3 separate regions of the Homo sapiens genome follow, and regions 1 and 2 are each linked to region 3. The links are contacts of gene promoters, found by promoter capture Hi-C in human tissues and cell types (Jung and others, 2019). All regions are on one chromosome and are shown on one strand. Each heading gives the region's core, a stretch centred on a gene start or on the middle of the fragment in contact. The rest is flanking DNA. Distances are from core to core; before and after follow the strand shown.

Region 1 (4,058 bases), core at 1,232-3,731, 160 kb before region 3:
GGATCCAAGGTGTGCTTAATTAGAGCCTATTTTTATTTAAGAATGAAATCCTGCTAACCAGAGCCTATTCCTAATAATGAAAAACACAGAATGGGAACTGAAATCCACATGAAGCCACTTCTCCATCTGAACTCATGACTAACCTCAAAGGGGGATTTAAAAATGGCTCTGTGAGGCCCGGCGCGTTTTCTCATGCCTGTAATCCCAGCACTTTGGGAGGCCGAGGAGGGTGGATCACGAGGTCAGGAGATCGAGACCAGCCTGGCCAACATGGTGAAACCCCGTCTCTATTAAAAATACAAATATTAGCTGGGTGTGGTGGCAGTCACCTGTAATACCAGCTACTCGGCAGGCTGAGGTAGGCGAATCACTTGAACCTGGGAGGTGGAGGTTGCAGTGAGCTGAGATCGCACCACTGCATTCCAGCCTAGCGACAGAGCGAGACTGTCTCAAAAAAAAAATAAAAATAAAAAAAAAGAAAAAAAAGGCTCTATGTTACTGTTGCCATGCAGCAGAACTGAGCATCACGGGACAGACATGTCAGAACCGTGTTCACGTCATGCCTGAGGAGATGGTGATGAGAGGAAGGGTGTGACGAAAGACCTGCAGACACATGTCCATCTGTGGTCTCCAGGTGGTATCTGTTAGGAAGGCTACCTGGAGGCATCAGTCATCAGTTAATCTAGCCATTGTCTGTTTCTGTTTCATAAGAAGAAAACTTTAGGATCCAGACAAGACCATTAAGAAAGATCACGATGACCATGGCACTGACTTTGAAAAAGATCCTCAATGAGGAACTATTAGTTTATCTAAGTAGAGCTAGGTAAAAATGCCTCGTTCATTTTCCATTTTTTCTTTTAATTTTTATTTTATTTTGAGAAAGTCTTGCTCTGTTGCCCAGGCTAGAGTGTAGAGGCATGATCTTGGCTCACTGCAACCTCCGCCTTCCAGGTTCAAGTGTTTCTTCTGCCTCAGCCTCCCAAGTAGCTGGGATTACAGGCATGTGCCACCAAGCTAGGCTAATTTTGTATTTTTAGTAGAGATGAGGTTTCGGCATGTTGGACAGGCTGGTCTTGAACTCCTGGCCTCAAGTGGTCTGCCTGCCTCTGCCTCCCAAAGTGCTGACATTACAGGCGTGAGCCACTGCACCTGGCCTCTTTTAACTTTTAAAATCAACTTCATTGAGGTTAGTTTACATAAAATAAACCCATTTTAGGTGCTCAGTTTGAAGAATTTTTACAAGTATGTATACCCATGAAACCACCACCCCAATCAAGATAGGAAACATTTTCTTCAATCCAGAGGGCTCCCGCATGGCCTCTGCGGTTCACCCGACCCCTAAACCCACACGGCCACGGGTCTGCTTTGTCACAAGAGATGAGTTTTGTATCACAGCATTTCACTTTGTTGGAAGCACAGAGTGTGTACTTCGTTGTGTCTAGGTTCTTTCTCTTTGGGTGATGTTTTTGAGGCTTGCGCATGTTGCTGTATGCAGCATGCCTTCACCCTTTTTAGTGCGAAGGCACATCCCGTTGTTTGGCTCTACCATAATCGTCTGCTCATGCACCTGTTGAAGGACATTTGGGTTGTTGTTTCCATTGTTTTGGTAGTTACAAATAAAGCTGCCGTGAATGTTTGTGTGCAGGTCTTTTGTGGATCCGTGCTTTCCCTTCAGTAAATACCTGGGAGTGGAATGGCTGGGGCGTGTGATAGGTGCGTGTTTAGCTTCCGGAGAAACTGCTACCTGTTTCTCCAAAGTGGGTGCACCATTGCATGTTCCCCACAACAGCGTCTCCACATCTCTGCCAAAACTTGGTATTGTCAGTCTTTTTTTCTAATTTTTTCTTTTTCTTTTTTGTCTTTTGCAACAGAGTCTTGCTATGTTGCCCAGGTTGCTCTCAAGTCCTGGCCTCAAGCGATCCTGCCACCTCAGCCTCTCAAATAGCTGGGATTACAGGTGTGCACCACCACTCCCAATTTGTCTTTTTAATTAAAAAAATTATAATAGCTTTGTAATAGTGTCTCGTGATTGTCATTTGCATTTTACTGACAACTAATGGCATGGAGGGTCCTTTCATGTGTCTGATATCCATTTGTATCTTTTTCAGTGAAGTGTCTATTTATAGAATGTTTGGCATATTTTTAAGAATGGTTTATTTTCTTATTGTTGAATTCTGAGTGTTCTTTACATATTTTGGACACAGATCCTTTGTCAGCGCTATGTATTGTAAATATTTTCTCCCATTCTATGCCTTGCCTTTTTTTTTTTTTTTTTTTTTTTTTTGAGACAGAGTCTTGCTCTGTCAGGCTGGAATGCAGCGGCACGATCCTGGCTCACTGCAAGCTCTGCCTCCCGGGTTCATGCCATTCTCCTGCCTCAGCCTCCCGAGTAGCTGGGACCACAGGCACCTGCCACCACGCCTGGCTAATTTTTTTTGTTGTTGTATTTTTAGTGGGGACACGGTTTCACCGTGTTAGCCAGGATGGTCTCAATCTGTTGACCTCGTGATCTGCCTGTCTCAGCCCCCCAAAGTGCTGGAATTACAGGCGTGAGCCACCGTGCCCAGCCACCTTTTTGTTTTCTTAATGGTATCTATCAAAGAGCAAGCTTTCAGTTTTTTTAATGTATTTTATTTTATTTTGAGACAGGGTCTTGCTCTGTCACCCAGGCTGGAGGGCAGTGGCACAATCAGGGCTCACTGTGGCCTTGACCTCCCAGGCTCAAGTGATCCTCCTGCCTCAGCCTCCTGAGTAGCCGGGACTACAGGAATGTGCCACCACGCCCAGCAAATTTTCTGAGTTTTTTTGCAGAGACAAGATCCACTGTGTTGCCCAGGCTGGTCTCAAACTCCTGGGCTCAAACGAATCCACCCGCCTTGGCCTCCCAAAGTGCTGGGACTCCAGGCATGAGCCACCCCGTCCAGCCCAACACCCCCTTATCCTATCTCAAGCATTTCTTTCTACTGACCTCAAGTCTTTAATTCTTTCAACCAGTTGCCAATCAGAAAATCTTTGACTCCATCCATGACCTGTAAGCCCCTTCCAACCTTCACTTCAAGATGCTCTGCCTTTCCAGGCAAACCAAAGTATACTAACCTGCATCCGTTTACGCCTTTGCCCACAACTTCTGCCTCCCTAAAATGTGTAAAACCAAACTGGAACCCAGCCACCTCACGTGCATTCTCAGGACCTCCTGAAACTGTTCCCTGGGCCATGGTCACTTGTATTGGCTCAGAATAAACCTCTTTCTTTCTTTCTTTCTTTCTTTCTTTCTTTCTTTCTTTCTTTCTTTCTTTCTTTCTTTCTTTCTTTTTCTTTCTTTTCTTTCTCTTTTCTTTCTTTCTCTTTCTTTCTCTCTCTCTTTTCTTTCTTTCTTGCTGTCTTTCTCTTTCTTTCTTTTCTTTTTTTTTTTTTTGAGATGGGATCTTGCTCTGTCCCCCAGGCTGGAGTGCAGTGGCACAATCATAGGCTCATGCAGCCTCAAACTCCTGGGCTCAAGGGTAAACCTCTTTCAATATTTTACAAGTTTGGCTTTTTCGTCAAAATTGCCTCGGCATCTTTATTTTTTTGTTTATTTGGTTTTTGCTTTTTTGAGACAGGATCTCACTCTCATGACCCAGGCTGGAGTGCAGTGGTGCCATCACTGCTCACTGCAGCCTCGACTTCCCAGGGCGGGTGATTCTCCCACCTCGGCCTCCCGAGTAGCTGGGACTACGGGTGCGTGCCACCACACTCAGATAATATTTGTATTTTTAGCAAAGATGGGGTTTCACCATGTTGCCCAGGCTGGTCTTGAATTCCTGAGCTCAAGTGATCCACCTGCCTCGGCCTCCCAAAGTACTGGTATTACAGGTGTGAGCCGCTGTACCTGGCCTGGCATCGTTGTTGAAAATAACTTGACCTGATGTAAGTGGATGAAGTTTTATTCTCTCTGTGTAACTCAGTTGATCTCTATGTCTCCCCTTTTGCTAATATCACAATGTCTTGATTTATAGTAAGTCTTTGGTATTAGGTAGAGTAAGTCTTCCAACTTTGTTCTTTTAAAATTTGTTTTGACT
Region 2 (4,259 bases), core at 1,136-3,635, 150 kb after region 3:
GAAAGTCCTGGTGAAGCATGCAATTATCGGTAATGCAGATGTGTGGGAGGACGCACATCTCACTGCCTGTTCCAGATGAGACGATGGCCCACACCGAGCGCCCGGCTCGCACGACATTCAGTGAGCAGACAGTGTCACTGCTGCTCTTCTGAGATAGCCTTTTTCCAATTAAAAATGCGCACATGTCTCTTGGAGCTCATGAAGAAACCCCAATCCCTAAAAACCTGGGGAATGACATCAGCCTCTGGAGCGGTTCCCACTCTGTGACTCTGACACCGAACGGCACGCAGAGGCATGCAGAGCAAGGGGGGCTTTCTCCTCCACCCCCACAGCCGATCGGAAGCCTCCCTGTGAACCTGGCATCCACGCAGCCCTTCACCATACTCAAACCCTGCAAACCCTGCACGGAAAAGCTCCACTCAAGCTTCAGAAAAAGAGCTGATTCTCTAAGAATCAGGGAGCAGACGGCATGAAAATGGTTTTGTTTTCTTTCGACCCACATACAATAAACCCAGCAGCTTTGATCATAAAAGCCCCCATTAAAAACATCTTGATTAGACCATCCCATACGATGGTGCTTATGCTGATTTAATCACTGGTTCACTCTCAGAATCCATCGGGGTGGGCAGAGAAAGAGAACCACACCCAAACCAAGCAACTGACATTTTAATCTCCCAGGCAAGTACTAGTTAGACAACTAGTAATGGCATATATGACATAACATATGGCAACATCAGGCAAAACACTTGGCAACTTACTTTTAATGATATATCATTATTTCCTCTTCATTTCAAGGAAAACGAGTTAAGGATGCCTCTCCCTTCTGCATAACACAGCCTGAGAACTCAGATGCGACCGCCTGAAAGCCACGGCCAGATGCAAGCTGTCAGCCCAGTCTCTGCTTACACCTAAAAGAATCGATCTGAACTACTCTTCAAAGCTTATTTGAAGTAATATTTCGATTAATACTGAAAATGAACGTCCAGTCCACTCTTTACCCATACCGTCTCAAACATCTGTCTTAGGTTTAAATTGCATTTAATGAAGAAAAGAACCACCTGATTAGTCCAGGTTTTTTCATCCTCAAAACGAGCTTCCAGGTAGCTTCACCATCCCTACCCCTGGCTCTGAAACCCCAAGCTCTGAAAGCCCTTGGCTCAGATCATTCTCCATTCGCAATGCATTCTCCATTGCGAGGGCTGCGGACAGGCAGGTTGATGGGCAGACTTCAGACACACAAATGGCTCCGCATGCAGACCCAGCAACCCTGAGAGAGCCAGTGTCACCAACGTGCAGTCATTTTGACTATCCCGGGCAGCATACGATCGCCGACAGCCTCTGAAAACACACCAGCTGCCAACCAGTGCCCCCCATGTCACAGCTACCACGGCTAGAAAGGAACACGAGGGCGGCTTACAAAAATCAGACGCATTTCCCCACATTTCAGCCCATGATGTCAAGCTTAAGCACAGATCACTGACGGCCAGCAGCTCCTCCTACCCGTGTGCTTGGAAACCGCATTTAATCTCTGCACCATTTCTTCCAAGGCCATCTCTTCAGTCCTCAGCCAAAACCTCATCCTCCGACACAACAAAAATGATCCTGGCAGATCCGCTTCCTCCGCACGGGGGGCGCCTGCGGGTGGGGCCGTGCGAGTGCGGAGGGGGCGCGGCGGAGGCGGGGAGGGGGCCACGGCAGCGCTTTCAGCCTCCAGCCGCCGCCTCCCTGCCCAGGATTGGTTCCGCGCCACCGGGAGGGGGGCGCGCGCTGCGCCGCGGGGGGCGGGGGGCGGCTCGGCGGAAGCGGAAGCGGCGCGCGCCCGCCCCGGTGTGTCACCACCGCGGGTCACCTGGGAGTCCTGTGAGTGCACCGCCGGGGTCACCTGGGAGCCCCGCGTGTCACCGCCGCGGTCGTCGGGGAGCCCCGGGGCTCACCAACGAGGTCACCTGGGAGCCCCGCGGGTCACCGCCGCGGTCACCTGGAAGTGTCACCTGTGTCACTAGGTCACCTAGTGTATCACACAGGTCACCTAGAAATTCGTGTCACCGCCAAGGTCACCTAGAAATTCGTGTCACCGCCGAGGTCCCCTGGGAGCCCCGCGGGTGCCGCACAAGTGCCCCCGCCCTTCCCCCCGGTTCCGGGTCTCCACGCCCTCCTGGTTTGCGGGCAGCCGCGAAGCCGCGAGTGGACCGAGCGAGTGCAGCTGCCTCCGCGGGGCCGCGCCTGGCCGCCGCCTCCCTTTACCTCCGGCCGCCCCGTGGCAGGTGTAGAAGCTGCAGAGGCCGCAGCAGCCCAGCGCGCCCCTTCCGTGTGGCCGCATGCCACCCGCGCCGCGCCCAGGTAAGCAGGTCCGTGGGTCGCTGGGTCCATGCGTGGGTCCGTGGCTGGCCGGGGATGGACCAGCCCCTCCCCGCAGGGGCATCGCCTGCCCAAGGACGCAGGACCCAGTGAGGGAAGCGCGCGCTGCAGGCACGGGGCTCTCCACCCTCGCCATGGTTGGCACCAAGCCACACTGTGCACTCGACACACGCAGCGTCCTGGCTGCCACCTGCAGATTCCAGCTCGTGTCTATGCAGGGCCATGGCCGCCATCACAGGGCCATATGCAAGAAACTCTCTGAGCTCTCCTCGCCCAAAACCGCAGCTATCCTTTTGTGGTTTGGTATTATAGGTAACATGCCCTTCCTTAAAGAAACAGTATTTCAGGCCTGTAGTCCCAGCTACTCCGGAGGCCGAGGCAGAAGCTGAGGCAGAAGCAGGAGGATCATTTGAGCCCAGAAGTTTGAGCCTGGGCAATGTAGCAAGACCCCCCCCCCCACCTCACTCCCCAATCAGTTAAAAGAGAGAGAGAGAGAGAGAGAATTCCAGCAGGAAGAAGTACACATTTCCACGAATGGTTTGGGAATTCAAGCATCATATGGCTGAGGTTTGAACTACAGCTCATGCCAATAACATGTGCACATGCGCCAGCATTCCAGCGTCCAACAGAGCATGCGTGCACCATTCCAGCATCCGGCAACAATGCACCAGCATTCCAGCGTCCAACAGAGCATCCGTGTACCATTCCGGCATTTGGCAACAATGCACCAGCATTCCAGAGTCCAACAGGGCATGCGTGCACCATTCCAGCATCCGGCAACAATGCACCAGCATTCCAGCGTCCAACAGAGCGTGCGTGCACCATTCCAGCATCCGGCAACAATGCACCAGCATTCCAGCGTCCAAAAGAGCATCCGGCAACATCCCGGTGTCCAGTGGCACATGTGCACCTGGACGTTCCAGTGTGGTGAGCTTTCAGGCACGGAGCAAGGCCAAAGGGATAAAAAGATGAAGGTGACGCAGTACTCCCCCTTATAGTGCCTACAGGCCTTATAGGCCAGACAGATCTGGAAATAAATAATTCATAATAAAAAATAATTACAGAATAAGAGGCATAATAACCAGATAGAAAGTATTGAATAAATCTGTAAGAAATGGCTGCTTTGTTTTTGTTTTTGTTTAACATGAGAAACGTATTGAGTATCAGCAGTTTCACTTGGTTCTACAGAATCTCTTTGGAGACCAGTGAAAGGAGAACTCTGGAAAGGCCTCAGAGTGGATGGGAGCCTCTCCCTCTGTGGACAAGCGTTCCCTGGGCTGCCCAGGGTGCCTACGGCGGCACAATTGCTACCTCCTGTCTACACATGGTCTGCAAAAAGTGCCCTCAAATGGGTCTGCTCCTCTCATTCCCTGTCAGTTCAGGGAACCTTCACCACTCCCCATCCCCCACCGCCCCCCCACCCCAACCCTGCCCCTCCAGCTTCAGGGAAAGCCTGTCATCAGGCAGAAGGGTCCTGAAATGCAGGCCCTGCCCTTTCCACTAGTCTAAGGCACAACACCCTCCCTGGTCCTCAGCCCACACGGCCCTAGGCCACACTCCCTCTGAGCACCTGCCCTCTTCTCCCGGCCGCTCTCCTGGCATGCAGGTGCCCTCCAGCCTGCCCAGCCTTGGGCTGCGTCAGGATCTACCGAGGACTTGTTAAGCTCACACAGCTGGGCTCTGATGGCTCCTTGCTGATCCAGGAGGTCTGGGATGGGGCCCGAGGATGTGCATTTCTAGCAAAATTTCCTGGGATGTTGAATGTGCTGGTCCACACTTTGAGAAACACTGCTGAAATCTGTTGCATCTTAAAAGCAAGATGAAAGGAAAGGGCCACACCCTCTGGCCTGTCCCGCTTCTCCGATCTCCCTCTTCACCCCTTGGGCATCTCCACACATGCT
Region 3 (3,863 bases), core at 717-3,216:
CATTGTCCTTTCTTGTAGCAGTACCAGCAAAGGAATGCTGAGGTCCCACCGCCCCAGAAGAACTTCCGTGACTGCCAGGACAGCTGTGCTCGTTTAAAGGCTAGACTGCAGATGCTGTGCGCATTCTGATTTTATTAAAATCAAAAGTGTGCACAGCAGGGTCCTGAGTGGGACCTTCTGGGACCTGTGTTCAGCCCCACCCACCCCACAGTGCAGCTGCCGAGGCCTCTGAGGCAGAGTAGGGGAGAGAGATGGCCTGGCCCTGGCTCTCCGGGGCTGGCCATGTCCACCCAGGGTCCAGGCCGGCCCCCGGGGACACCACAGGCCATGGTTATGAGCCAGGCCCGCATCACACAGCTAAGGGTGCCAATACCCTGTGGACCCAGAGGTCCGCGAGGTGGGCGCCTGCATTTCCCATTGGCAGGAAGGGAAGCTGGCGCTCCACCAGGACTCTGCATAACTCCCCTAGTTTCCTCCTGTGGGTCTGGGTGGGCTCCTGGCCTGTCTTCTCATCCCCACCCTCTGCTTCTTCCCAGGAAGAGGAGTCCTGCCAACTTCCATTCCCAATAAGCCAGAGCAGCTTCCAGAGTCCCGGGCCGGGCTTAGGGCCTCGGGAGCCCCGGGCCGGGCTTAGGGCCTCAGGATCCTAGAGCATTCCGGCTGCAGAATTTTCTACCAATTCGCGGAAGCATCTGTCTGTTTGCAGAGTAGCTTTGCTGTCGATGATGATGGCATGGGTCCTTCCAGGGCCTTGTTCCACCCACGCTGATCTCATCCCACCACAAGCATCACAGTGGGCTCCTGCAGGGGGCAGTGTGGCCTGAGGGGGAGGAAGAAGGCTGGGCGAGTTGGAGCCACACAGTACCCCATGAAGACGGGAGTCCCGTTCCGCGTGGGAGACAGGAAGATGTGGCTCAGGGGACAGAGGCTGGGGAGGGCAGGGGGTTGAGGGTGGGATGGAGAAGACCCCCGTGTGATGTGACTGGAGCTCCAAGTCACCAGGCGGAGGGGCCGTTTAGGTCAGTGATGCACTGAGGATCCACTCAGCCTTCCCAGGGGTCTCCCCTTTCCACCCCACGAGGGTCTCCCCCTGCTCCGTCTCTCCCTCACACATTCCCTTCCCAGGCCTGGGTCCCCTTGGTGCCCCTGCCTGTCCACTTTGTCCAGGATGCAAACAAGTCTAGGGTCCCTGTCTCTCGTGTCCCCACCAGAGGGGCCTCCTCTTCCTCCGCTGTCCCCAGGCTTGCCTGGCTTCTGTCCTGTCTGGGCCTCTGCTTTTGGACAGACCCGGGGGTCCTGGACAGCCCTGCTGCCCCCACCTGTCCAGCTGTGCATTAGGCAGCTCCTTCCCCGACGGAGCCAGTCCGAGAGTGGTGGCACTGGCTCGGCTCAGCCTCCTCCTCCCTGGGAGCTCCTCTGCTGTGCCCCTCGTCCTGTGCCTCCCTGTGGTGGCAGATGGCTAACTGTCCTGTCTCTGCCTGCCCCAACCCCTCCCTCTCTCTCTGTCTCCGTCTTTCTACCTCTGTCTCTGCCTCTTGGCCTCCCATCTCACTGTGTCTCCGTTTCTCCTTCCCTCTCCCTTTCTCTCTCTGACTCTGTCCTTGTGTTTTTGTCTCTGTGACCTCTGATCCGCCCGTCTGACTCTCAGCCCCAGGGAGCCACAGCTGGCCTTGAGGATGCCGTTGGCTGGAAAGGCCAAGCCCAGCCATCCGAGCCCAGCCTCTGGCAGCACTCAAGGCACCCACCGTCCAGGCTGCAGAGATGAGAGGGTTTCCCCAACTGCCGCCCCTCCCTGCTCCCTGGCGCTGCTTTTGGGTCTGAAGGGCGAGGGGCACTTACGACTTTCCCCGAGCAGCAGGAGGCCAGCCAGGGAGGCACTGAGCAGGACGAGGTGCAGTGGGCGCCCCATGGTGTGGCCGAGTACTGTGTCCCTGTCCTCACTGGGACAGGCTGCTGGAGCAAAGTCCACGCCCCAGCTGGGATGGCTGTTGTCTGGCTGCTTATCACTTGGCTTAGGCCTCCTGATTGGAGCCGAGACCTGCTGGCGAGGCAGGGGAGTGACCACGCTGGGAACACATCCACTCTGGCCCCACCTTCCCCAGGCAGAGCTGGGCGGCCAGAGAGGCCCCGCAGAACCTCATCCTCATCAGTCACCAGGGCCGCGGGTGTGGGGACTTTCTGTTCTAAGAATAAAAACATCATTTCGTGCTCATTTTGTAGTTTCCAGATGTTTACATTTAACTCTCAGTCCTCACATACAAATATCATTTTCCCCATCATTTTTCCAGAAGAGAAAACTAAGTTTAGAGAGCGCAGAAGCCTGAGCCGAGGCCGCTGGCAGTGAGCGTGGGATCTGAGCCCAGGACTTCTGCCCCAAGGCCCTGCTTGTTTCTGGGCGGGCCCTTCCGCTCACAGCCACTCTCTGGGTGGTATCAGGTGGTCTCATGTCACGGGGGGGGCTTGGCATCTGCACCATGGCCTCCCACAGGCCAGGCTGGCACCTGCCCCACCCACCCCCAAACCTTCTGTGCCCGCATGGCCCCAAAACGTACTTCTGTGGGGAGTGACCTTCCCGTGACCATCTGGAGGGACAGGCTGTGTCTGAAGCCCCTCCTGACCTGCCCACCACTGGCCACACTGTTCCGAGGCTGAGAGGGCTTCTGGGCTCGTTCTCCAGTGCAGAAACCTCCCATCACAAGGTCCTGAGTGTCTCTGCTCAATGGCTGTGGGAGTCACTGGGAGGTGCAGCCGGGCTTTTTGCCTCTGGGGTCTCTGGAATAAATGGTCTAAAGCTTGGCCAGTGTGGCGATCACTGCCTGCTATGCCGTAGTGGCCGGGGAGCAATGCCCCTAACACCCACAGCACTGGCCACTGCCTCATGGTGCATCTGCCTTGATGGGTCGCCCTGTCTCGCAGCCACCTGCACATGAGCCTGGTGTGCACACATTGTGCGTCATTGTGCCTGGCACACAGGAGGCACTCACTGAGCCCCACCCGACTGCACAAACTGATGATGCTGGATGCCAACGCCAGGCTGGCCTCCCACGGCGGGCACCACGCACAGCCTGGTCCTCTGAGAAGGGCCTTCCTGGTGGCACCAGATGTCTGACTCCTGCCTCTCCTGGTCTCCACCCTCTGACATCGCCTCTAGGCATGTTTGTATGGAGAGACCAATGCGGTGTGTGCACCAACAGCAGGATGCTCATGGCAGACACGCAGTCTTTGTCATCAATGCTGGGTGGCGATGCTGGCTTTGGTGGCCCAAGCCTGCCGCCTCATCCCACCCTGTCCCAGGCCCATGGCCAGTGGCCTCCCCGTATTCTATCTCGCCACTCACAGAAAGCTGGAGCTGAGCCGTGGCAGGTGGCACGTCCCATATGAAACATGTAGCCTTTGGGGGCGCCCAGGCCCTTCAGCGAAGCCTCTGGGGAGTCCCGGGCCCCCTCCTCCGGCAGCACCATGAGGTGGGCGCCTGCATTTCCCATTGGCAGGAAGGGAGGCTGGCGCTCCACCAGGACCCCGCATGACTCCCCTAGTTTCCTCCTGTGGGTCTGGGTGGGCTCCTGAACTGTCCTCTCATCCCCACCCTCCGCTTCTTCCCAGGAAGAGTCCTGCCAACTTCCACTCCCAAGAAGTCAGAGTGGCTTCCAGAACCCTGGGCTGGGCTTAGGCCCTCAGGAGCCCCGGGCATTCTGGTTGCAGAATTTTCTACCAATTCACTGAAGCATCTGTCTGCAGAGTGGCTTTGCTGTCGATGACCATGGCATGGGCCCTTCCAGGGCCTTGTTCCATCCATGCTGATCTCATCCCACCATAAGCATCACGGTGGGCTCCTGTTTTACACATGAGGAAACTGAGGCATG

Evidence for each region. The method cuts DNA at HindIII sites, captures the fragments that hold promoters and counts their contacts. A contact is called where the count stands out against the background at its distance.
Region 1: a contact is called between a fragment that was not itself captured here and the fragment with the promoter of F10 in region 3, in 2 of the 25 tissues and cell types used here (IMR-90 fibroblasts and mesenchymal stem cells).
Region 2: a fragment that was not itself captured here is called in contact with the fragment with the promoter of F10 in region 3 in 2 of the 25 tissues and cell types used here (H1 embryonic stem cells and dorsolateral prefrontal cortex).

What each region holds. Positions count from the first base shown.
Region 1 is chr13:113,280,626-113,284,683 of GRCh38, reverse strand. No RefSeq gene overlaps it. Among named protein-coding and RNA genes, the nearest start is that of LAMP1, 15 kb to the left of the region's middle. The HindIII fragment of the contact is 8,108 bases long and covers 1-4,058 here.
Region 2 is chr13:112,966,700-112,970,958 of GRCh38, reverse strand. MCF2L (MCF.2 cell line derived transforming sequence like) reads right to left here and starts at 1,745. Exons shown (of 30, transcript NM_001112732.3): 1 at 1,501-1,745. The coding sequence starts at 1,579. MCF2L-AS1 (MCF2L antisense RNA 1) reads left to right here and starts at 2,321. Exons shown (of 1, transcript NR_034002.1): 1 at 2,321-3,475. RefSeq lists a silencer at 1,810-1,869 and an enhancer at 2,071-2,590. The HindIII fragment of the contact is 3,406 bases long and covers 683-4,088 here.
Region 3 is chr13:113,120,902-113,124,764 of GRCh38, reverse strand. It overlaps F10 (coagulation factor X), which reads right to left and starts at 1,966. Exons shown (of 8, transcript NM_000504.4): 1 at 1,840-1,966. The coding sequence starts at 1,909. The HindIII fragment of the contact is 14,274 bases long and covers 1-3,863 here.